4 separate regions of the Homo sapiens genome follow, and regions 2, 3 and 4 are each linked to region 1. The links are contacts of gene promoters, found by promoter capture Hi-C in blood cells and fetal thymus (Javierre and others, 2016). All regions are on one chromosome and are shown on one strand. The core of a region is centred on a gene start or on the middle of the fragment in contact, and the rest is flanking DNA. Distances in the headings are between cores, read along the strand shown.

Evidence for each region. Contacts are between HindIII fragments. The CHiCAGO score rates a contact against its expected background, and 5 or more counts as called.
Region 2: a fragment that was not itself captured here is called in contact with the fragment with the promoter of GYS2 in region 1 in 1 of 17 cell types (naive CD4 T cells); the score reaches 5.0 in naive CD4 T cells.
Region 3: a fragment that was not itself captured here is called in contact with the fragment with the promoter of GYS2 in region 1 in 3 of 17 cell types (total CD8 T cells, total CD4 T cells and naive CD4 T cells); the score reaches 5.5 in total CD8 T cells.
Region 4: a contact is called between a fragment that was not itself captured here and the fragment with the promoter of GYS2 in region 1, in 2 of 17 cell types (naive CD4 T cells and total CD4 T cells). The highest score is 5.9, in naive CD4 T cells.

Annotation. Positions count from the first base shown.
Region 1 is chr12:21,601,548-21,607,095 of GRCh38, forward strand. GYS2 (glycogen synthase 2) reads right to left here and starts at 3,300. Exons shown (of 16, transcript NM_021957.4): 1 at 2,925-3,300. The coding sequence starts at 3,045. The HindIII fragment of the contact is 12,472 bases long and covers 1-4,070 here.
Region 2 is chr12:22,076,686-22,082,233 of GRCh38, forward strand. The region is part of intron 1 of LOC105369690 (a long non-coding RNA gene); the gene reads right to left. Among named protein-coding and RNA genes, the nearest start is that of CMAS, 33 kb to the left of the region's middle. The HindIII fragment of the contact is 1,659 bases long and covers 2,483-4,141 here.
Region 3 is chr12:22,057,581-22,063,128 of GRCh38, forward strand. CMAS (cytidine monophosphate N-acetylneuraminic acid synthetase) reads left to right here. Exons shown (of 8, transcript NM_018686.6): 4 at 987-1,120; 5 at 3,252-3,346; 6 at 3,701-3,872; 7 at 4,701-4,854. Among named protein-coding and RNA genes, the nearest start is that of CMAS, 14 kb to the left of the region's middle. The HindIII fragment of the contact is 1,555 bases long and covers 2,169-3,723 here.
Region 4 is chr12:21,983,618-21,989,165 of GRCh38, forward strand. No RefSeq gene overlaps it. Among named protein-coding and RNA genes, the nearest start is that of ABCC9, 45 kb to the left of the region's middle. The HindIII fragment of the contact is 2,928 bases long and covers 1,482-4,409 here.

The sequences.
Region 1 (5,548 bases), core at 2,050-4,549:
CCTTTAGCTATTTATCCTTCAAGTGTCAGCTCAAACATCTCATCATTAGAGAGGTTTTTCCCAAACCTCTAGGTAACTAGGTTAGAAACCACTCCCCATTCCACGGTACACTGTATAGTCTTAGGACACCTGGTTCCCTTAGTCTCACACTCATCACATTTGACTGTATTGTATGTTCAATGTCTACCTTCTACAAATTTGTCAATTCTTGAAGATTAAGAATCAGTTCTGTATTCTTAACTCTATCTCCCTCGCCTCTCAGTGCCTGATACCTAATAGACACTTGATGAATCCTTACTGAATAATAAAATGGATTAATGAATAAAAGCAATAAATTTCAAGGTTAATATTAATAAATTAAAAAGGTTATTTTGAAGTCTGAGAATTAGTACCCAAAACTAACTGTGACTCTCTCATCTGTTATGTTTTTCACGTTTCCATTGTTCATGGGCAAAATTCTGGCAGCAAGGGATTCTTCTCCTAAGAAACCTTTTGTTTTCTTGGATGTGAATACATTTCCTTGTTTGCCAGAAAACATGGTAAGATAACTGGAGAGTATAACATTCATTTTATTCATGAAGAAACTGTTATTCAGTTTAAGGGGTTCTTTTTCAGAAAGTTTCAGAAATCCAAGACCTTTGACTGCAAGTACTGTGTTCTTTCATCTATAGGACATTTCCTTTGAAAACTGAGGTTTTAATATTTAATTCTTACATAATAGTAAAAAAGTGAATTGGCCTTGGAAAAGACCTAAATCCTGGTCCTAACTCTGCCATTTGCTTGATCATTAAATACCTCTACGAATCAATTTGCTCTATGAACTGGAGGAGTGGGATTCATGATCTCTAAGATACCTCATATCACTACTATGAAATGCAGGGAAGTAAAAATTCAAATCATTAAATTTAAAGAAACTATAGTGGCAATGTATTATTAGGAATAAACACAATAATTATCCATCTATATGAAAATCTCAAACCATACCAGGCTATGATAATATTAAAATAAAGATACATTGAAGATGATATCAACTTGTGTAAATCACATTGTGGGGACCTCTCCACAAAAACACTTCCCTTCCCCTTGAAAGGGAAATGATAGAAAATAAGTATTAAAGGCAGCTTAGGGGTTGAAAAACAAATTTTTTCAAAAAAAAATCCATTGAGCATTTTCTATGTACCAGGCACTGTTCTAGACCCTGAGATCAACACACATGCTACTGATTATAAGATCCATAAAATAACTTAGTTTCACTGGCGTGTTCCCAGTGCCCAGGTAACAGTGCTCCATTAATGTTTGTTAAATGATGAGAAAAGAGGAAAGCAGAAGGGGCTCTGCTCAGGTGCAGGAACTTGTGCAGAGATCTTCTGGACTGATTCCCAGTGCTAACAAGTCCCTTCCAGTTTTATCCACCAATAAGCTATGTCCTTGAGCTCCTGCCCACTCTCTAGAGAAAACTTTTATTTCAAGGCATACTCCGGGATTCACATGTGATAGAGATGGTTCTGTTCCCAGGAACTTTGGGCATATTTAAAAACTGGACTGGAAAAATTTGTGACTAGAAAAAGGACATTAAAAACACATGCTCATTTCAGGATAAAGATCTCTGAGGAAAAGAATACAAAATAATTTAAAAAGAAACAACAGAAACAGGTACACATAAAATACTTCACTTCTCTGTAATAAGGTTTCTGTCCTCCTAGATTCTTTCTCACTAAACTACAGAGAATAAGACCGTGCTTTGTTCTCTTATATGCATTCTGTCCACTTCTACATAGGCAAAATTGACTTTTAATTTTGATTTTATGAATGCATACACACGAGAACTTTGAACAGTTAGTATAAGGTGAATTCTGATTTTTCAGAATGCATGCCATATATAATGCATTTAATTTTGAGATTATGCTGGCTCTGATTAGCCAAAAGAAGGAAGTAATATATCACATTCTGGTTATTATTTCAGATCCTTTAGATTACTGTAATAGACATGAAATAGTAAACACAAAATGAAAAATAAATGTGTTATATATCACAACACATGACATAATTTCAGATCGTTTAAATCACACAAGTCATCACTGCCATTTACCCAGCAATCAGTTGGCTTGATTCTTCAAGATCTTGAGGAACTCAGCCTTCAAAACCATGACTTTTTCTTTGCTAATGTTCCTTCAATAGTCTTGACACTTTTAAACTAGAGAGTATAAACCCACAAGGAATTGTTTTATAATTTTACAGATGTCTTTATTTTCAAAATCATTTACATTGTGGTTCTCTACCTTGCCTTCTCTTACCCAGCACAGATGAGGTTATACCTCACTCGCAAATTGTTTTATCAATTTGATTTTCTTTATTTTATAATTCCTACATAAGCATAGCATTGAAGAAAAAAATTACTTTCATTCTGAAAGGAGCACAGTATTTTGCCTTTTGAGAAGCTCCTGAATTAAAACATTAATTCCAAGCTAATTGTGAATATGAAACATTCTTAAGCATTTCATATAATTACTAACAGAATGTAGAGTTGAGGTTTCCAACTGGTTCTAATCACATATACATCTTCCTAAAATAAAATGTTTAATTATACTATTTTGCTGAGAAAAATTTTAAAACAAAAAATGTAAATATTAACTTTTTATTTCTATGTTGTCATAATATGGATTTTAAATTTTAATTTAAATGCACATTCCATGGCAATGGCTAATATTTTCAACTTTCTCCCTCTTCAACACATACACAAGTCTGTATTCATAGCCTGTTGTAATAGACAAGGTTAAATGTAGCCTAAATATATATTCCGTTTAAATGCTTTCCTCACTCACTAGCAATTGGTTATCACTAGAGAGTTATCTGTGAAATCTTACTCTACATTCCTCAGTCACCTAGTGAAGGTGTACTGATCCACCTTCAGGAGCAGTACAAACCTTTATTGGTCACTTCCCAAGCAACTTCAAAGAGCAGTAACTCCTCCACAGGAAGTTCTTCGACTTCCCACTGGGGAAGCCCACCCAGGGATGTTACAGAGAGGGATCGGCCTCGAAGCATTCTTCTTACAGTCCTCCGAGACTCCTTTGAATTCCTGTTTCAATTAGTTGTAATCCCAGGAGAAGAGAACTTACAGGCACAAAAGTTAGAGTTGGTAGAGTTACCAGGCTTTGGTAGCTTCTCTTGGGAATAAACTAGTAGCATGAAATCTTATGTGCTTCCCACAGAATTCCTGGTGGAAGGAGGAATTCTTCCTCCTCTTTCTCGTCTTTCTGGGCAGGTATTGTGAGGACGGTATCTGCCCTGTCAGTATCTACCCAAACAATCCAGAGCTGTCAACAGAAAAACCCTCTGATTCAGGACATAGGTAAGCACTTCCTGGGATAGGCAGGGCATGACCCAAGTTCAGCCTTTTAGCCCTTGTCCTTTTGACCAGACTCCTAGATTCATACAGTTACCAATGCTTATTTCATCATTTCCAAAGTGATACAATATTGGCAACTCCCCTCATTAAGTTTGCAGGCCTCCTTAGATTACATGTAGACTGATTGGGACATATTTTTATGCTTTAAATCCCTTTGGATTTCCTAAATATTCTTCTTTCTTTTGATTCCTATTTCTAGAGCTTTTAAAAAATATTCCTAGTTATTTTATTCTACACTTACAAATTGAATTTTGGTGATAGCCAGAGATCTTGAGCCCCCTTTTCTCAATTACTTTTCTTAAAACTTTCCCTATAAAAAAGCATAAATTTGAGTATGTCTTTGGGTGTAACATGAAAAAAAACATAATTTTGACTGGTCAATAATCATCAGTCAATAATTTTAATGAGGTAGTAAAAATAAATCTTTGTCATGTTTGTACATTTCCTTCAAATATTATCAAATTGATAAAGAATAATTCAGTCAATGTAAATGTTCAAACATGGGAAGAAAAATCATCAGGATCAGACTGCAGATAAATGGCATATGTTTGCTTTTCCCTTGTGTTTCTATGTTTGTAAATATATATGTTCCAATTTATTTACACACCCATACACATATATCCTATATTGTACCTACAGAGAGTTGGTGCATTCACAAGCAAGCTTAATTTTGAGCCATCTTTACAGATGTAGCTAAAATCAATATTTTTACATTATTATTCTCTAAAGCAGCAGAACTGAAGCTCATACAAAATATCCTTTAAGTTAGAATTACAATCAGAATTGTAATTTGTTACTTGATAATACTATTTTAGCACCTTTTATTAGGTTTTAAATTATTTTCTATATACTTGGTCTTATAGACTTACACTTATTTTAATGACTCAAGATGGGCAGAACCACATTTCATTATATTACATTAATAAATCTATGTAAGCCAAATAGATTAAATATGTCAGCTTGATGTGGTAGTACACACCTGTTGTTCCAGCTACTCAGGAGGCTGAGGGGGATGAATCACTTGAGCCCAGGAGTTTAAGGCCAACCTGAACAACCACTCTCTTAAAAAATAAAATAAAATAAAAAATTAATTAAAACAAAAATAAATAAATGTCATCTATGATTTTGTGACACAGTTGATTCTTATCTTTGTCCAGAAAAGTACATTTAAGTACATAGTTTGTTATCCATTTGTTTGCGTTGTGAGAAAAAGATTATATGGCTAATAAAAAAAATCAAGTACTAAAATAGAAAACATATGATCCCAAATGATCAAAATGATTGTCTCCTTTATAAAATGGTTTGCTTATGTTCACATAACCTCTGAGAGTCCTGCAAGTGCACATTCCAGTAAAACCAAATCTAAGGACATGTTGACAGGAGTGAGAATGGGATGACAGTGATAGAGTTTCACGTTTGCAGTTTTCTGTTCCAGGAGCCTTGAGATTGGTTCATCCAGTGTCACACAGGCTACAGGAGCACAATGATCCATATTCTCCAGCTTACATGATAAGGCTGAATTATTTATTTGCAATCTGTTCCAGGTATCAACTGCTTAGTTGTGAGTTAGGCACTTGTGGCATCACTTATCTGCTGTGTAAACTTGAGCCAATTTCTTACCTAAGTTTTTGTTTTCTTGATAAAATGGGGATGAGATAATCTATATAAGTCACTTAACATTGTGCCTGGTACTATGCCAACCACTTTAGTAATCTTAGCCTTTTTTATAACACATATGATGGTTTAGTAAAAGCTTTCCCTAATGGCAGAGGTTACCATTGAAAAGGAAAGGGGTAAAAAGAAGGCTTTACTTTTCTTTCATTTTTTTGAAGTTGTACCACCTGTATATATTACCTGATCAAATGCCTAGAGAAAACATTTTTTTCAGAAAAATGACCTTAAGATCAATGAGTATATTTTATAACATCCTAAATGAAAATAAGTAGGATGTAAAATAAAATAAGTAGTATGATTGATTTAATTTTGTGAAAATGTACTCTATACCTCTGTTCATGAAGTATATGTAATAGAAGGCTGGAATAGACATAAACAAAAGACGGGAGGCTACATGTAAAAACTCTTACAATAGTTGTCTTAAACTGGTTGTAATTATGATTGATATTTGTGTGGTATTTTTAT
Region 2 (5,548 bases), core at 2,062-4,561, 480 kb after region 1:
GAGCCAGGTTTCACAAGTGGGGTGTGAGAAAGAAAGGAGGAGAAGAAAAAAAAAGGTAAAGTGACCAGATGGAACCTTGGGAACCTTCCAACCATTACACAGTGTGGGGGCACCAGGCCCGCCCTTCTCATTTATCAGGGAGAGTCTCAGCACCCTAGGTGGGCAGCTCTCCGAGATAGTCAGGAGGGTGAAATGGGAGGTAGAGAGCAAAGAAAGGCAATAGGGCCCATACAAAAAGTCATTCATTCACACATGCAAATGGTGTGCTTCCAAATGAGTCCCCAGTCAAGGGTCTGGGTGAGGTCCTGAATCCCCCGCCCCAGTTCCAAATGGCTCCACAGGAAGCTGAGTCTGAGCCAAGTTCCTATGGAACTTCATATTCAAATAAATACAAATGCATAAAATGCTCAAATGCTATCACTAGCAGCCAGGTCTTAAATACAGTAGGGCCTTGGGCCAGGCGCGGTGGCTCATGCCTGTAATCCCAGCACTTTGGGAGGCCAAGGTGGGCGGATCACCTGAGGTCAGGAGTTCAAGACCAGCCTGATCAACATGGAGAAACCCTATCTCTTCTAAAATACAAAAATTAGTGGGGCATGATGGCGGGTGCCTGTAATCCCAGCTACTTGGGAGGCTGAGACGGGAGAATCGCTTGAACCTGGGAGATGGTGGTTGCAGTGAGCCGAGACTGGGCCACTGCACTCCAGCCTGGGCAGCTGAGCAAGACTCCATCTCAAAAAAAAAAATAATATATATATAGCACGGCCCCAGCGACACCCCAAAAGAGCCAAGTCTTAAATAGGGCAAGGCCACCCAGTTTGGGTACACTCCAACTACTCACTCAGTTTCAAAGTTTGTCAGCGTCTTAAGAGGCCATTTTGCTTGTACCAGTGAAGCACCAAAGGCAGCAGTTGTCATGCCATGAGGCAAAAGGGAGCTTCCCCCAAAACAAATTCATTTTTGGCAGCTTCTGGGAAGTTTCCTAATGTTCCCATTATGGGGTCTGCTAGCCATGAGCAGCTGGCACTCACAGGTGACCCCACACCTCACCTGGTAGTGAAACTGGGCTGACAAAGTTAGCTCACCCAGGGCATGAAGTACTTCCCCATATGAGCCACAAAAATTGTAACCAAAACACAAGTCCAGTCACTCCCCACTCCACATTTTGTAACCAAAACACAAGTCCAGTCACTCCAATTAACAGGAGCAAGGTATAAAGAAAGTGACATTTTATTCCAAAGCTTGCTTAGGGGAAGAGGAGCAGGATCTTGTCTTTATGGGTACCACCTCACTTTTGGAGCAGAAAGTGGGGTGCTTTTAAAGGGGGCCCAGCATGCTGGCATGAATGACATGCAGAGGAGTCAGTGAGCAGGTGGGGGGTCTGCATACTAGCCTCGGTGCCTTATCTACCGGGTGGTCAAGCTGGTAACTGCTGGTCCCTTTGTGGACAAGACTAGGTTGTAAAAGCAGCAGAAAATTCTCCAGGTGGGAGAGAGTTTCACAGTGGAAATACTTTAGGTAGTAGATGGACTGTTGTTTCTTTAGGCAGCCTCCTGGTAGGAGAGTTTCACTCTGGAGCTTCTAACAACCTAGTTAAATAAACTTGCCCTCTAGGGAGTGTCTGGTGAAGAGGAGGTAAAGGCTATAACTGCATTTCTAAAGACCTAAGTAGGAAGTGGGGAAAAGAAGGAGAGCGAGAAGAAGAAAGATAGTAAAAAACTATCTCTTAGAAAAATGAGGGTACACAGTTACACTATGATTAATAAAAAAAGGGATGGAAAAAAGTACACAACATGCAAAATCAGATAGATAATGTCAATACAGACAGAAACTATGAGAAAGAATCAAAAGGAAATGCTAGAAATCAAAGAAACAGTAGCAGAAATGAGGAATGCCTTTTGGTGGTTTATCAGTAGACTTGAGATAGCTAAGGAAAGAATAGGTAAACTTGAATATTGGTCAAATTTTTTTTTTTTTTTTCTGAAACGGGGTCTCACTCTGTTGCCCAGGCTGGAGTGCAGTGGCGTGATCTTGGCTCACTGCAACCTCCACCTCCCAGGTTCAAGTGATTCTCCTGCCTCAGCCTCCCAAGTAACTGGGATTACAGGCACGCACCACCATGCCTGGCTAATTTTTGTATTTTTAGTAGAGACGGGGTTTCACCATGTTGGTCAGCTGGTCTCGAACTCCTGACCTCGTGATCCACCCGCCTCGGCCTCCCAAAGTGCTGGGTTACAGGCGTGAGCCACTGCGCCCGGCCAGAATATTGCTCAATTTTAAAAGTTCCCAAACTGAAAAACAGAAGGAAAATAAATTTTAAAAAAGAATACAATATGCAAGAACTGTGGGCCAATATCAAAAGGTATAACTGAATACCAGAAGCATAAGAAATAGAACAGGACAGAAGAAATATTTGAAATAATACATGGCTAAGAACTCCCAAAACTAATGACAAACACCAAAGCCAACCTTTCTGTGGCTAAGCTTCCTGGCTCTAATTGAAGATAATAACGGTATCATCAAACTACAAATCCAGGAAGCTCAGAGAAGTCCAAAACAAACAATTAAAAATAAAATCCTACAACCAGGCATTTCATATTCAAACTGCAGCAAATCAAAGACAAAGAAAATCTTGAAGGAAGCCAGAAGGAGAAAAAAAAAAAAACAAACCAGAACTAAGGATACAGATTATATCAGATTTGGCTTCAGAAACACGTGAGCAAGAAGAGTGAGGTGAAATCTTTGAAATGCTGAAACAAACCCTGTCAACCTATATTTCTATATTCAGCAAAATTTTCCTTCAACGGTGAAAAATAAAGCCTTTTGTGGAGAAAACTGAGGGATTTCATTGCCAGCAGACCTGCCCTGCAAAAATGTTAAAGATATTCTTCAGAGAGAAAAAAAAATGATATAGGTCAAAAATTATACAAAGAAAAGCATTAGAAAAGGAACAAGTGAAATTAAAATAATATTTTTAATTGATCTAAAAGATAGCTATTTAAAGTAATAATAGTAACAATGTATAGGGTGACTATAGCATATGGACAAGTGAAATAATTGACACCAATGTCACAAGGAATGGGAGGAATGAATCGGGAGTAGTCTTATAAAGTTATATAATGTTATTTGAAGGTGGACTTATTTTAAAATATATATTGTAAACCCTAGGGATATTACTAAATTTTTTATAAAAGATATATGATATACCAAGTAAAGATATAAAATCAAATCATACAAAATGCTTAATTAACCCCAGAGAAGTCAGAAAAACAGCAGGAGAAAGAAATAAAGAACAAATGCAATGAACAGAAAACAATTACAAAGATGGTAAATTTTAATGCAACTATATCAATAATCCCTTTAAATATGAATGTTCTAAACACACCAGAGACTGTCAGGTTGAATTAAATTAAAAAAAAAAACTAGACTTACCTGTGTGCTGGCTACCACAAACCTACTTTAAATTTAAAGACTCAGAAAAGTTAAAAACAAAATGATAGGAAGAGAAATTCCATGGTAAATCGATCAAACGACAGTATCATATGCTCTGTCAATTATCAATTACTATATAACAAATAGCTTCAAAGCACGTTTACTTGAAAAAATAACTACTTTTTCATAATTCTGTGGATCAACAATTTGGGCTAAGGTAAGTAGAGTTGTTTTCATGGTCTCACTCTGTGGTTGCAGTCAGTTGATGGTGGGAATCGATGAACAGTCCAAGTCAATTTCCCTCACATATATCTACTGGTGTCTGGGCTGTTCTCTTCTTGCAGTCTTTCAACTTTAAGGAAACTAGTTTAAGTGTCTTAACGTGACAGTCTCTGAGCAGCTGGAAGGTGAGATTGGATGCTGCAACACTTTTTGATAACTTCCCCAGAAGTCACACAATGTTACTTCAGCCTCAATTTTACTGGTCAAAGTGAGTCAAGTTACTGACCATCCAGCTCAGATCAAGGGGTCAGAAGATGGAGTCTACTTTCTAATGGAAGGAGTTTAATTTTTAATGCATTATATATGTTGATACATCTGGGTTTGGAAATTTGAGAAGGTGAAAAGAGAAAGATCTTTTTGAGGGTTTTTATTCTAATTATTTTGCATTTTGGAATTTGGACAAGTTTAGCCAACCTTTCCGTGGCTAAGCTTCTTTGCTCTAATTGAAGATAATAACAGTATCACCTCACAGGATTGTGAAGATTCAATGAGATAATATATATAGCATGTCTAGAGGAGTACCTGGCTCGTGTAGGGCCTCTAAATGTTTATTATTATTGGCAATAAATGAACTTAGTTTCTAGCTTCAACATTGTCACGAACTAGCTAAGGTATGCTTTTCAAGACATTTAACACCCACAAGCCAGTTTATTTGACTATAATCTGAGGCGCTTATAATAGATGATCTCTATTGTCCCTTTTAATTGTCCCTTCTAATTCTACAGATGCAAATGTACTAATGTTTTACTTAGAAGAAATATTTCACATAGAAGAAACATATATCATATTTATGATTAACATGAGCATTTAAGGCTCTGGGGATGATTGGCTACAAATTATAGTGCAGAAGTCTTAAATTTCTTAGTACATCAGTGAACTTAGAAAAGAAATATTCTTTATTATTATGTATGTATTTATTTGTAGAGATGAGGTCTCACTACATTACCAGGCTGGTCTTGAACTCCTGTGCTGGAGCCATCCATCCGCCTTGGCCTCCTGAAGAGCTGGGAGCAGAGGCATGAGCCACTGCACCCAGCCAATACTCTGTATTAAACCATGATTCATTGAAGGGGAAGAGCTATCAAAAGTAAGTAATTTTATTTGTGAAGATTGTTTACCTTTTCTCAATTTAACAATGAATAGCATTTAGCATGTCAAAGATTATTACATTTCCTGAAATTGTTAGGTTGGTGCAAATGTGATTGTGGTTAATGGCAAAAACCACAATTACTTTTGCCCCAACCTAATAAAAAGCCAAATAAGGCACAAGCTCACCACCTCGGCAAACAAATATAGGGGAATGGGATGATATGAGTCTGGCGAGGTGAATAAACAGAGGCCAGATTGTACTGGTTTTTGTGAGTTACATTAAGACATTTTTGCTTTATCCTGAAAATAAGGGTAGAGAGAGACCCTTAAAGGGCTTGAAGCAGAAAAATCTTTTCAAGTGGAGGTGAAATTTGAGCTGGATCTTAAACTAGAAAATTTCATTGGTGTCAAAGGACAATATCAAAAAAAATGGAGTTAACGTTTGTGTTCAGATAATGGAAGAGGTCGTTATCTGTATAGGCCTGAAAGGATCTACAAGGTAATGGTAAGAAATGAGACCAGAAACACAGGACCAAATTGGAGATGACCTTCAAAAGAAAATGCTTGATTCCTGTGTTGACTTTGAAATGCTTAATTTCCTTCGAATCCAATCTATTCCACTACCACTTTACTTGTCTACTTTATGCTTTCTGTTCCCTTTGTAAAAGTCTCAGTGACTCCATGCTGCCCACAGAATAAGGTAAACAATTCCCAGTCCAAGTGTTATAGTTCTCTTTTGTATCCT
Region 3 (5,548 bases), core at 1,696-4,195, 460 kb after region 1:
TTCTGTATATGCAAACAATGAGAACTAGATTAAAGGGCCCAAATATTAATATAGGTATTTTATGACAAATTCAGTTCTTTTAAAGCTACTTTAAGGTTGTCTTGATGTCCTCCCAAAGCATAATATTTGTATGAATACCTTAATTGTTCCACATTTCATTATAAAATACTTTAGTTTTCTAGTAGCTATTGGAAAGCAAAGATAAATCATCAGAATTATTACAGATTTTATTCCTTTAAAAAAGTTCTTTTTTTTTTTTTTGAGACAGAGTCTCACTCTGTTGCCCAGGCTGGATGGAGTACAGTGGCGCAATCTCGGCTCACTGCAATCTCCCCCCCCCGGGTTCAAGCGATTCTCCTGCCTCAGCCTCCCAAGTAGCTGGGATTACAGGTACCCACCACCATGCCCGGCTAAATTTGTGTTTTTAGTGGAGATGGCGTTTCACTATGTTGGCTGGGCTGCTCTCGAACTCCTGACCTCAAGTGATCCGCCCGCCTTGGCCTCCACAGTGCTGGGATTACAGGCGTGAATCACCACATTCAGCCTAAAAAAAGTTCTTTATCAGGCCGGGTGCAGTGCCTCATGCCTGTAATTCCAGCACTTTGGGAGGCCGAGGTGGGCGGATCACGAGGTCAGGAGTTCGAGACCAGCCCGGACAACATGGTGAAACCCCATCTCCACTAAAAATACAAAAATTAGCCAGGTGTGGTGGTGCATGCCTGTAGTCCCAGCTACTTGGGAGGCTGAGGCAGGAGAATCGCTTGAACCCAGGAGGCGGAGGTTGCAGTGAGCCAAGATCGCACCATTGCACTCCAGCCTGGGTGACAGAGCGAGACTCTGTCTCAAAAAAAAAAAAAGAAAAGTTCTTTATCTAGATAAAGAAATGCTCTGCATTCTGAGTTCATTTTTATTAACTTTTTTAGTTACTAAATTAACACTTTCTATATTCAGGGCAACGTGGACTTACTCTAACTTTTTGCTTTTAGTTCGTGAAGTGACCGAACCTCTGAATTTAAATCCAGCTAAACGGCCTCGTCGACAAGACTGGGATGGAGAATTATATGAAAATGGCTCATTTTATTTTGCTAAAAGACATTTGATAGAGATGGGTTACTTGCAGGTTTGTACCTTCATTTTGCATAACCCTTTTAAGCGCTTTTGTAGGCATACTTTGAGTTCTAGGGAAGAAGTATGGTACAATTTCTTTATGATAAAGAAAAGTATCAACCTATAGAGGAAAGGTAATAGCCAACAACATTTGCTATCTGAGGCATTTATCCTGCAGGTTTACCCCAAAGTGATCTTTGGAATCCATTCAGTAAATATGCAAGGAATTCTGCTACAACGATAAAAAAATGAATCAAGTACTGGGTGTCTACACATGTCCTGGTACTCATATTATTCCACTCAAAACTACGTAATCCATGTTTGTGTTATAGTTATATTGTGGCTGTAGGGTTGAATAACTTCTATTGCTTTAAAAAGACAAATAATTTCATAGAGGTGAAAAGAGTTACAACCTGGGTGTCAGGAAACCCGGAATCTTTTTATATATATATATATATATATTTTTTTTTTTTTTTATTATACTTTAAGTCAACTGCCTCTTACTATGTAAGCTTGAATATGTATCATTTTATCTGTCCTGACTCTCATTTTCAAATAACAGATTTAATGTCTCTCTCATTTTAGAGCCTGCAACATGGTTGCATCATATATTTCTTAACTTGTTAATTTTAGTTATCATTATTATTTATTATTTACTGTGTACTTCGGAGTAGGTGAAACACTTTGCATATGTTATCTTATGTAATCTGCATAGCGAATGAATGAAGTGGACATTTCTACCCAGTTTTACAGAGGAGGAAAACTGCCTCACTGAAATATGAAGTAATTGACTCAAGGCAAAAACAGCTAATAAATGGTACTGTCAGGATTTGGATTCAGGTTCTTATGTTACTCAAGAAATAGCGGTTTTAAAGAGAGAGAGAGAAACCTCTCCATTGTGTAATAAAAATTCTAATGGGACTATTATTCTGAGCAAAAGAGAGAAAAACATTTTTACAAATCTTCTGGTCAATGTGTAGGCAAACTATAGACTAGCTGTTTAGTTAAATTTAAGTGTTCAGAAAAATTGGATTTGACACACATAGATACTACCATTTTTAAGCTTTTTTCTAAGGAGGACCATGATTAACCCATTCCTAAAGTGTGGAGAAAAATGTTTCTCATTAAAACAAGGTTTATGAAGAGACTGACAATTCTGAAAAAAAAAATGAAATTGAAATTGTCCAGTAATTGATCTTGTCATTCAAATAATTACTATCAGAAGAAAGACCCTTTCTCTTGCTGACCCTTGCCTAGAATCAAGAGACTGCCCTTGCCTTTGCCTGCATGTGACTTGGATGACTATTAGTCATTTTCATCAGTAGCTCAGAGATCTAAGAAAACTCTGTACAACAGATGCTACAGTTATTTTTCCTCCCCTGTGTTGCCTGTTAGTTGCAAATTAGAACAGAAGTTCCAAAAACCTTAATACTGCTTTTGGATGATGACAGGAGAGACTTCTTGAAAAAAAGGAGGATATGATTAAGGGATTTCCACAAAATCCCTTGTGGTCAGAAACCTGGAGGATGTAATATTTCTGCTTTTTTCAATATTAAAATAGAAATTTTCTTAAATAGGGAACTTGAACTGTTTAGATAGAATTTGAAAAATGTTAAGGTTATTTCTTTTGTGTGAGCTTTCTCCTTAAAAAAAAAAAAAAAAAAAAAAAAAAAGCTGGGCGTGGTGGCTGAAGCATGTCATCCCAGCACTTTGAGAGGCCAGCTTGAGGCCTCAAGAGGATAGCTTGAGGCCAGGTTTCCAAGACCAGCCTTGGCAACATAGCAAGATCTTATATCTACAAAAAACTTTTTAAAAATTTAGCCGGACATGGTGCTGTATACCTGTAGTACCAGATCCTTAGGAGGCTGAGGTGGGAGGATTGCTTGAGCCTAAGATTTCAAGGTTATAATGAGCTATGATTGCACCATTGCACTCCAGCCTGGGAGGCAGAGTGAAACCCTGACTCGAAAAAATAAAAAAGTAAAAATAAATTTAAAAATCATTTTTATGTGACTGATTTTTACTGGGTTATTCATTTTTCTCAGTACTGTAGAAATGAATTCATTGTTCTGTATTATAATAAAGTTTTGATATATGTGAATGAATATTAAAAACAGTATTCATGACATTTATACTACCTTTAGGGTGGAAAAATGGCATACTACGAAATGCGAGCTGAACATAGTGTGGATATAGATGTGGATATTGATTGGCCTATTGCAGAGCAAAGAGTATTAAGGTAAAAACAAATAAACCTTTATAACCTTTGTACTAAATCTTAATAATTATATTTCTAGATACTGATTTCTGATACTTCAGACATCTTAGGATCTTTGTAATTACTTTGTTCATGTGAGGAAGACATGTAAAATATGTGTTTACATGGCTTCAATAAAGTGAGAAACATTATCTGGCTAGACCACACTACTTTTACTTACTGTACTATATGTTAAAATATATATGTGAAGTAAATTTGGAGAGTAATGTTTGAATAATTGAATGGAGGGTGACATTTCATGTATTGGTTTAGCCAGATGAGAGGGAGTGATTAGTACTGCACTTGTACTCAAAGGTCTATTTTGGTTTCTTTTAGATATGGCTATTTTGGCAAAGAGAAGCTTAAGGAAATAAAACTTTTGGTTTGCAATATTGATGGATGTCTCACCAATGGCCACATTTATGTATCAGGAGACCAAAAAGAAATAATATCTTATGATGTAAAAGATGCTATTGGGATAAGTTTATTAAAGAAAAGTGGTATTGAGGTATGTGCTCCCTGAATATAGCAGTATTTTATAATATTTTGATTCAGGGTCAAAGAACATGCAAGGAATTAAGAGATTTAAATTTTTAGTATTAACTCTTAAAATATCTGAAATTTGGCCTTCATACGCCTAGAAAATTATTATACTATTTAGTTTTAGATGAGTAGAATTAGGAATTTGTTAATCAGCAAATAATATTTCTTGTTTATTCAGTAAATATAAACATAACTACTTTTAAATGGGAGCTATCTAATGTTTCCCAAAGGATCTTGCAGCAAGAAAGATTCCCTAGATAATAGGTGTACCATTTTAGAAAAGGACGATATCCTGTGGATTTTTAAAATCTAGCTTATTCTTATGAATGACATTTTTGATTCAAAATAACTTAACGTTTAAGTGTATTTTTTTAAATGAAAGCTAGCTAAGATAATTATAATTTACCAGAAATCCTAAATATGTATTGCTAAGCAGCACAAGAGAGAGGTTATAGACTTTCCTCTGGATAAATTGAATTATAGGAGAATCTTAGAGTAGTATCAGACAATATATGTTGTAATTTTTACCTGTAGATAGAATCCTTTCTATTGTAGAAAATAAAATACTGTGTCTCACCTTTATTGGGCTATGAGAAATAAAATGAGCTTTGTTTTAAAGCATCATGATTTTAATTCGACAGTCAGTTTTCTTACTTGGACCTTCAGAAAGTCAAAAGATGACTCGTTTGTGATTTGGACTGTCTACAAGGTCAATTATTATGAAAGATTTCTGTTTTCTTCACTTTTTAATTTTTCCCTTCTTCCTCCAATCCTTTTTTTTTTTTTTTTTAAGGTGAGGCTAATCTCAGAAAGGGCCTGTTCAAAGCAGACGCTGTCTTCTTTAAAACTGGATTGCAAAATGGAAGTCAGTGTATCAGACAAGCTAGCAGTTGTAGATGAATGGAGAAAAGAAATGGGCCTGTGCTGGAAAGAAGTGGCATATCTTGGTTGGTATCTTTTTATTCACCCATAGTAAAATGGACCAGGAATTAATTATTTACTTATTTTTAAAGAAATGACAAAGCACATCCTCCAAATGGGTATGATTGTAGGGAAATAGGAACTCTTTTAACAAACACTGCTGATCAAACTGTTAAACTGGGACAGTCTTTCTGGAGGTTAGTTTGATAATAGGTATCAAATGTAGAATGATTATTAGCACAAGCTGTGAAGTCAGACTGTACCACTGATTAGCCAGTTGTGATAAGATGAATGTTGTTTCCTCATCTGTAAACTGGAGATATCGAGAGTACCTATTACCGTAGGGCTCTGGAAGGGATTAATAAAATAATATGAGTAAAGCACTTAGCAGAATTTCTAGTACATATGAATTACACTCTGAATAGTTTTTGCTGCTAATTGAATGTACATACTTTTTCCTCCAAATTCCAATTCCAGGAAAGAAATGAGACAAATGGGCCAATAGTGAAGTTAAAAGAACCCACTTAAATGTCCTGTGAAAAATAGAATATCCCTAAAAAGGATTACTATGCAACCATTACAAACAGTGCTGTGACCTGTATTTATTTGCATGATCAAATATAACAATGTTTTTCACTTGGATATTAAGCAATACACTTACTTACCAGGTACCTATGATGATACGCAGCATGGAACTGGTTGTGGGAACTGTAGGCTTTC
Region 4 (5,548 bases), core at 1,696-4,195, 380 kb after region 1:
ACTGCAAGGCATGAACCTCCTGGGTTGATGCCATTCTCCTGCCTCAGCCTCCCGAGTAGCTGGGACTACAGGCACCCACCACCACGCCCGGCTAATTTTTTATATTTTTAGTAGAGACAGGGTTTCACCATGTTAGCCACGATGGTCTCGATCTCCTGACCTCGTGATCCACCCACCTTGGCCTCCCGAAGTGCTGGGATTACAGGCATGAGCCACTGCTCCAGGCCGAGCAAAACTTATTTTAAACTGAGAGTGCCTTTTTCCATTAACTCGTTTCTTCAACCAGAAGCATCTTGTGATCAAGACTGCCTAACTTTCTGGGAATGTAACCCAGCAGGTATTGCTTTCTCCAGCCTTTATTCAAGATGGGGTCACTCTGGTTTAGACGTCTCTGACATTCTCACCGTGCAATTACAATAAAAGGAGATTTTGAAAAATCATCATTTATCCAATAGGAAGAGAGAAGAAAGGACACAAAGTAAAATACAGGAAGTAGAAAAACAGAATGATATGTGTGGGCCCGCTAATCAGGTGATAGTGGCAGCGACAAAATAGACAATTGGGTGGGAGGAAGCATTGTTATTTGTAAACAGGGTTGTTACACCATGATAAAAGGAGCTATTCATTAGAAAAATACGTTAATTCTAAATCTGTATATGCACCTGACAATATATAAATTACAATAATATGAAAAGCAAAAACTGACACAATTACCAGGAGAAAGTGACAAGTCTACAATCATGATTATAAACTCTAGAACAGTTCCTTCAGTAATTGATAGAACAGATAAAAAATGAGTCAAGAGGTGATTTGAACAACAGTTCACATACTTGATTTCTATATTGCACATAAAGAAACATTATTTGAAGTACAGAAAGGATATATACAGTCATACTCCACATAACAACATTTTGGTCAATGACAGATTGCATATTTGAAGATGGTTTCATAAGATTAGAATACAGCTGAAAAATTACTATCACCTAGTGACACCTTGTGACATTGAAGCCATTGTAACATCATAACACAAGGCATTACTGACCTGTTTGTGGTGATACTGGTGTAAACCTACTGCACTGCCAGTCCTATAAAAGTATAGCACATACAATTATGTACAGTACATAATAGTTGATAGTGATAATAAATGACTTGCTGGTTTATATATTTACTATACTTTTTATAGTTACTTCAAAGTGTACTTCTTCTTATTAAAAAAAAAAGCTAATTGTAAAATATCCTTAGGCAATTCCTTCAGAACTTCCTTCTTATTCCAGAAGCAGGCATTGTTATCATAGAAGATGACATGGGTGTTATTGCTCCTAAAGACCTTCCAATGGGTCTTCCAGTGGGGCACGATGTGGAGGTGGCAGACAGTTATATTGATGCTCCTGATGCTGTGTAGGCCTAGGCTAATGTGTGTGTTTTTGTCTTAGTTTTTAGCCAAAAAGTTTTAAAAGTAAAATAAATTTTAAAATAGGAAAAGCTTTTAAAGGTATAAAGAAAGAAAATAGTTTTGTATAGCTATACAATGTATTTTAAGTATCATTGCAAAAGAGTCAAAAAGTTAAAAAAAGATTGAAAAGTTTGTAAAAGTAAAAAAGTCAGCTAAGATTAATTTACTATTGAAGAAACAATTTAAAAAATAAATTTAGTACAGCCTAAATGTACAGTGTTTATAAAGTCTGCGGTAGTATACAATAATGTCCTAGGCTTTCACATTCACTCATCACTCATTCACTGACTCACCCAGAGCAAATCCAGTCCTGCAAGCTCCATTCATGATAAGTGCCCTAAATAGGTCTACCGGTTTTTATGTTTTATACTGTATTTTTAGTGTACTTTTTCTATTTTAGATATGTTTACATACATTAGTACTTACCATTGTGTTACAATTACCTACAGTATTCAGTATAATAATATGCTGTGCAGATTTGTAGCCTAGGAGAAATAGACTATAGCATATAGCTTAGGTGTGTAAGACGCTACACTATCTAGGTTTGTGGAAGATCACTCTACGATGTTCACACAATTAGAAAATCAGCTACGGATGAATTTCTCAGAATGCATCTCTATTGTTAAGTAAAGCATGACTGTATAAAAGTTGACTTCATATTAGGCTACAAAGCAAATCTCAACAAGTGCCACAGAATTTATATATCTTGCAGAAGCACATTTTCTTACCATAACAAAATTAAAAATTAAACCAAGGTAATTAAGAGTCCATATACTTGGAGATTTAAAAGTACACTTTTAAAACTTTAATTGTCAAAGAAATCTTTTTTTTTTTTTTTCCCTAGAGTCTGGATCTCACTCTGTCACCCAGCCTGGAGTGCACTGGTGTGATCATAGTTCACTGCCACTTTGAACTCCTGGGCTCAAGTGATCCTCCTGCTTCAGTCCCCCAAGTAGCTAGGACTACAGGCATACCACCACACCTGGCTAACTTTTAAGGTTTTTTTTTTTTGTAGAGACATGGTCTTTCTATGTTTCTCAGGCTGGTCTCAAACTCCTGGACTCAAGTGATCCTCCCACCTTGACCTCTCAAAGTGCTGAGATTACCGGTGTGAGCCACCGCGCCCAACCTCAAAGAAGAAATCTTAATTATGATAAAAACATACTTCATGTTTTACAAAAACACTGCACATCAAAACACAGAATAAAGTTGAAGCAATCCTTAGATGAATTTTATAGTGTATGTTCACATATTACAGATGAGGAAATATTAAAAATGGGTTATCTAAACATCAAAATCAGGAGTGAAAAAATTGTAAACCCAACGAAAGCGGCTTACAAAAAAAAATAAAGAGCAAATAATAATAACAAAGTGAAAAAAACACACTCAATAGGGTAGATCAAGAAATTATAGCACAACATGATAACTTGTGAGGAGAGTATGTTCAAGTTTCCTCCTGTGCGCAGCGGCTTCCTAGAGTCCTTCGTGCCGAGTCCTGTCTCCCTGTCTAACCCCACTTCCTTCTACTCTTCCTCTCTCTCTCCTCTTCTCTTTCTTTTCCTCAAACATGCCAACCTCCTTCCACCTATTTAAGACCTTTGCACTTGCTCTTTTCTCTGCCTGGAGCACTCTGCTCTGTTTTTGCATTCATCACAAACTTCTTTGTTGCATTCACATTTGCATTAAAAAAGTGTTTACTGAAAATCAGTGATGTTCCTGACAGTAGAGATACAGCAGTGAACAGAATAAACAAAAATATCTGTAATTATGGAATGTATGTTCTAGTAGCTGGCAAATTTTCACTCAGTAAGGTCTTCCCTGACCACCAATATAAATGCCAATGTTACTTATTTTCCTGTTTTCCTATTTATTACGTTTCTTTGCACTAGTGTGCCACATCTTTGAGAGAAGAGACCTTGTCTATCTTGTTTGTCACCTTTACTCTGAGGGCATGGAATGATACCTAAAACAATTATGTGTTCAAGAGCTATTAGGTAAAAGAATGAATGCATGAATAGGGGATTCATGGAAGGTGTCTCCTCAATTATATTTGAGGAAAACATTTGCCTGAAGCAAAGGGGTGTGTGTGTGTGTGTGTGTGTGTGTGTGTGTCACCAAGCAGAACAAAGATTCTGTGTAAACTCAAGAGAATGGATACTGTGGCATTAGAATGAGAGGTTAGATGGGCAGGCAGGGACCAGATGCAAATAGTCTGGTTGCTATGCAAAAAGAGTGGACATTTCATCTTACAAATAACAGTGCGCATGATGGCCATTTGTTTCAACACAAGATGGGAAATTTAAATCTCCTTTGGGGATTTAATTTTAAAAGTAAAGAATGTTTCTATTTGGTTTGAAAACAACAACTCTTTGGTTGTAATTATTTTTATGAGCTCAGTTTTAGTTAACATATAATATATAACTGCAAACACTATACAGTTGATAAAGGACATTTCATTAATAATCAACTTTACATGGTGCTTTATTGGAACACTGAAATAGGTGTAGATCAAGCACTGGAACTTAGTTATGTACAAACTTAGAATGTATTTTCCCATAACTGGTGTCAAGTTTACTTTCAGTGTGCCCACTTGTGCCATCATCACCATCAACATCAGATCTCACATGGATTGCATGGCTCTTATATTCAAGTCACTGTTCTAATCCATTTAATTTTCTCAAAAACTCTCGGTGCAGGGACAATGAGTTGCTCTAAGTCCCATAGCTAGCACATGGAGTAGGCAGGATTCAAAATGTGGTAGTTCAGCTCTGCAGCCTGTGCTCTTAACCCTTATTCCTCACCGCTTCCGTCCTTCCTGAATTCCATCCCACCCACTGAGTTTTGTCACCTAATCTTATGGAAACATGTACTCTGCAGATTTAGGTCATCTTCCCATGCCCTCCTTCTCCGCCTCACTGATTTTCTTTGCCTACCTCCAATCCTGTTCCTCCTCACAAGCTTCTGCCACTGATGCCATCCCTGGTCTGACCCCTGGAATGGAAGGTCCTGGTGAAAGACAAAAGTCATAGTCGGGTGCTTTCAAAGGGACGGGAGTCTGTGTTCTCAATCAGATTCAGTCTGTCAGTTGTCTCTAGGGATGTGGGATCTTCATGTAGGTGGCATATGGAATTTTCTAATCAACGTTTATCTTCCCCTGACCCCTCATCAGTGGTGCACACACCTTCCTCTGTGTACATTCTCCTGAGCAATCTGAGTGGCTCCTGTCCCTCTGTTCAACTCTTGGCTCTCTCACTTGGAATCTTGAGAACTAGCCTCCGTGAACTCTGGGAACTGGGATATAGTGGCCCTCAGCTCTCATCTTCATAGGAACACTGTGATACTCTCATGCTCTGCTGGCTTCTGGCATCAGAGGATCTCCTCGGCAGTGGGGTTTCTGCCTTCACGAGTCTCCAGATGAAAAGTCAGTGGCATTCTCCAATTTTTAGAACCCTTCATATTTTAGAATATATAAATCTAGTGCCTCCTTCAATCTAGGGGTTGGGGGAGAAGTTAAATGCTTTAGAAATTGTGTTCTCAAGAAAGTGATCGCAAGACTCCATCTCAAAAAAAAAAGAAGAAAGTGACAATTTTTACCCTTCAGGGTGCTGTGAGAACCCATCATTTTATGAACTCAATGGTGGGTATCTCATACTACGGGAGTGGGGAACAGTAGACATTGTTCATGTTAAAAGGTGAACTCCCAGTGCCTTTTGTTCTCAGCTATTAGTTTAGCAAGTCCTACACAAAAGCAGTAACACCAGGGAGCTGGAAAGAATCTAAGTTGGTACATCACATCCCATTGTCCACATCAACACACTCATGACATAAAACCTTGCAAAGAAAGTGATATCAGCACCACTTGAATCAGTATAAGGAATTACAAGGACTTTATAGAGTTTAAGTGACTTCTGACAATAAGCACTTCTATGTATTAGCTCAAATATGTTAAGATTTAAACCATCACTTAAAATTCAAGAACAATATGACCTAGGCCTTTTATTTTGGTAATAAGATATATAGTTTACTTCTGAATGATTAATACTTCTACTAAATGTCAAAAGCCAAAAGCTACAAATTTTTCTTAGATAATACACA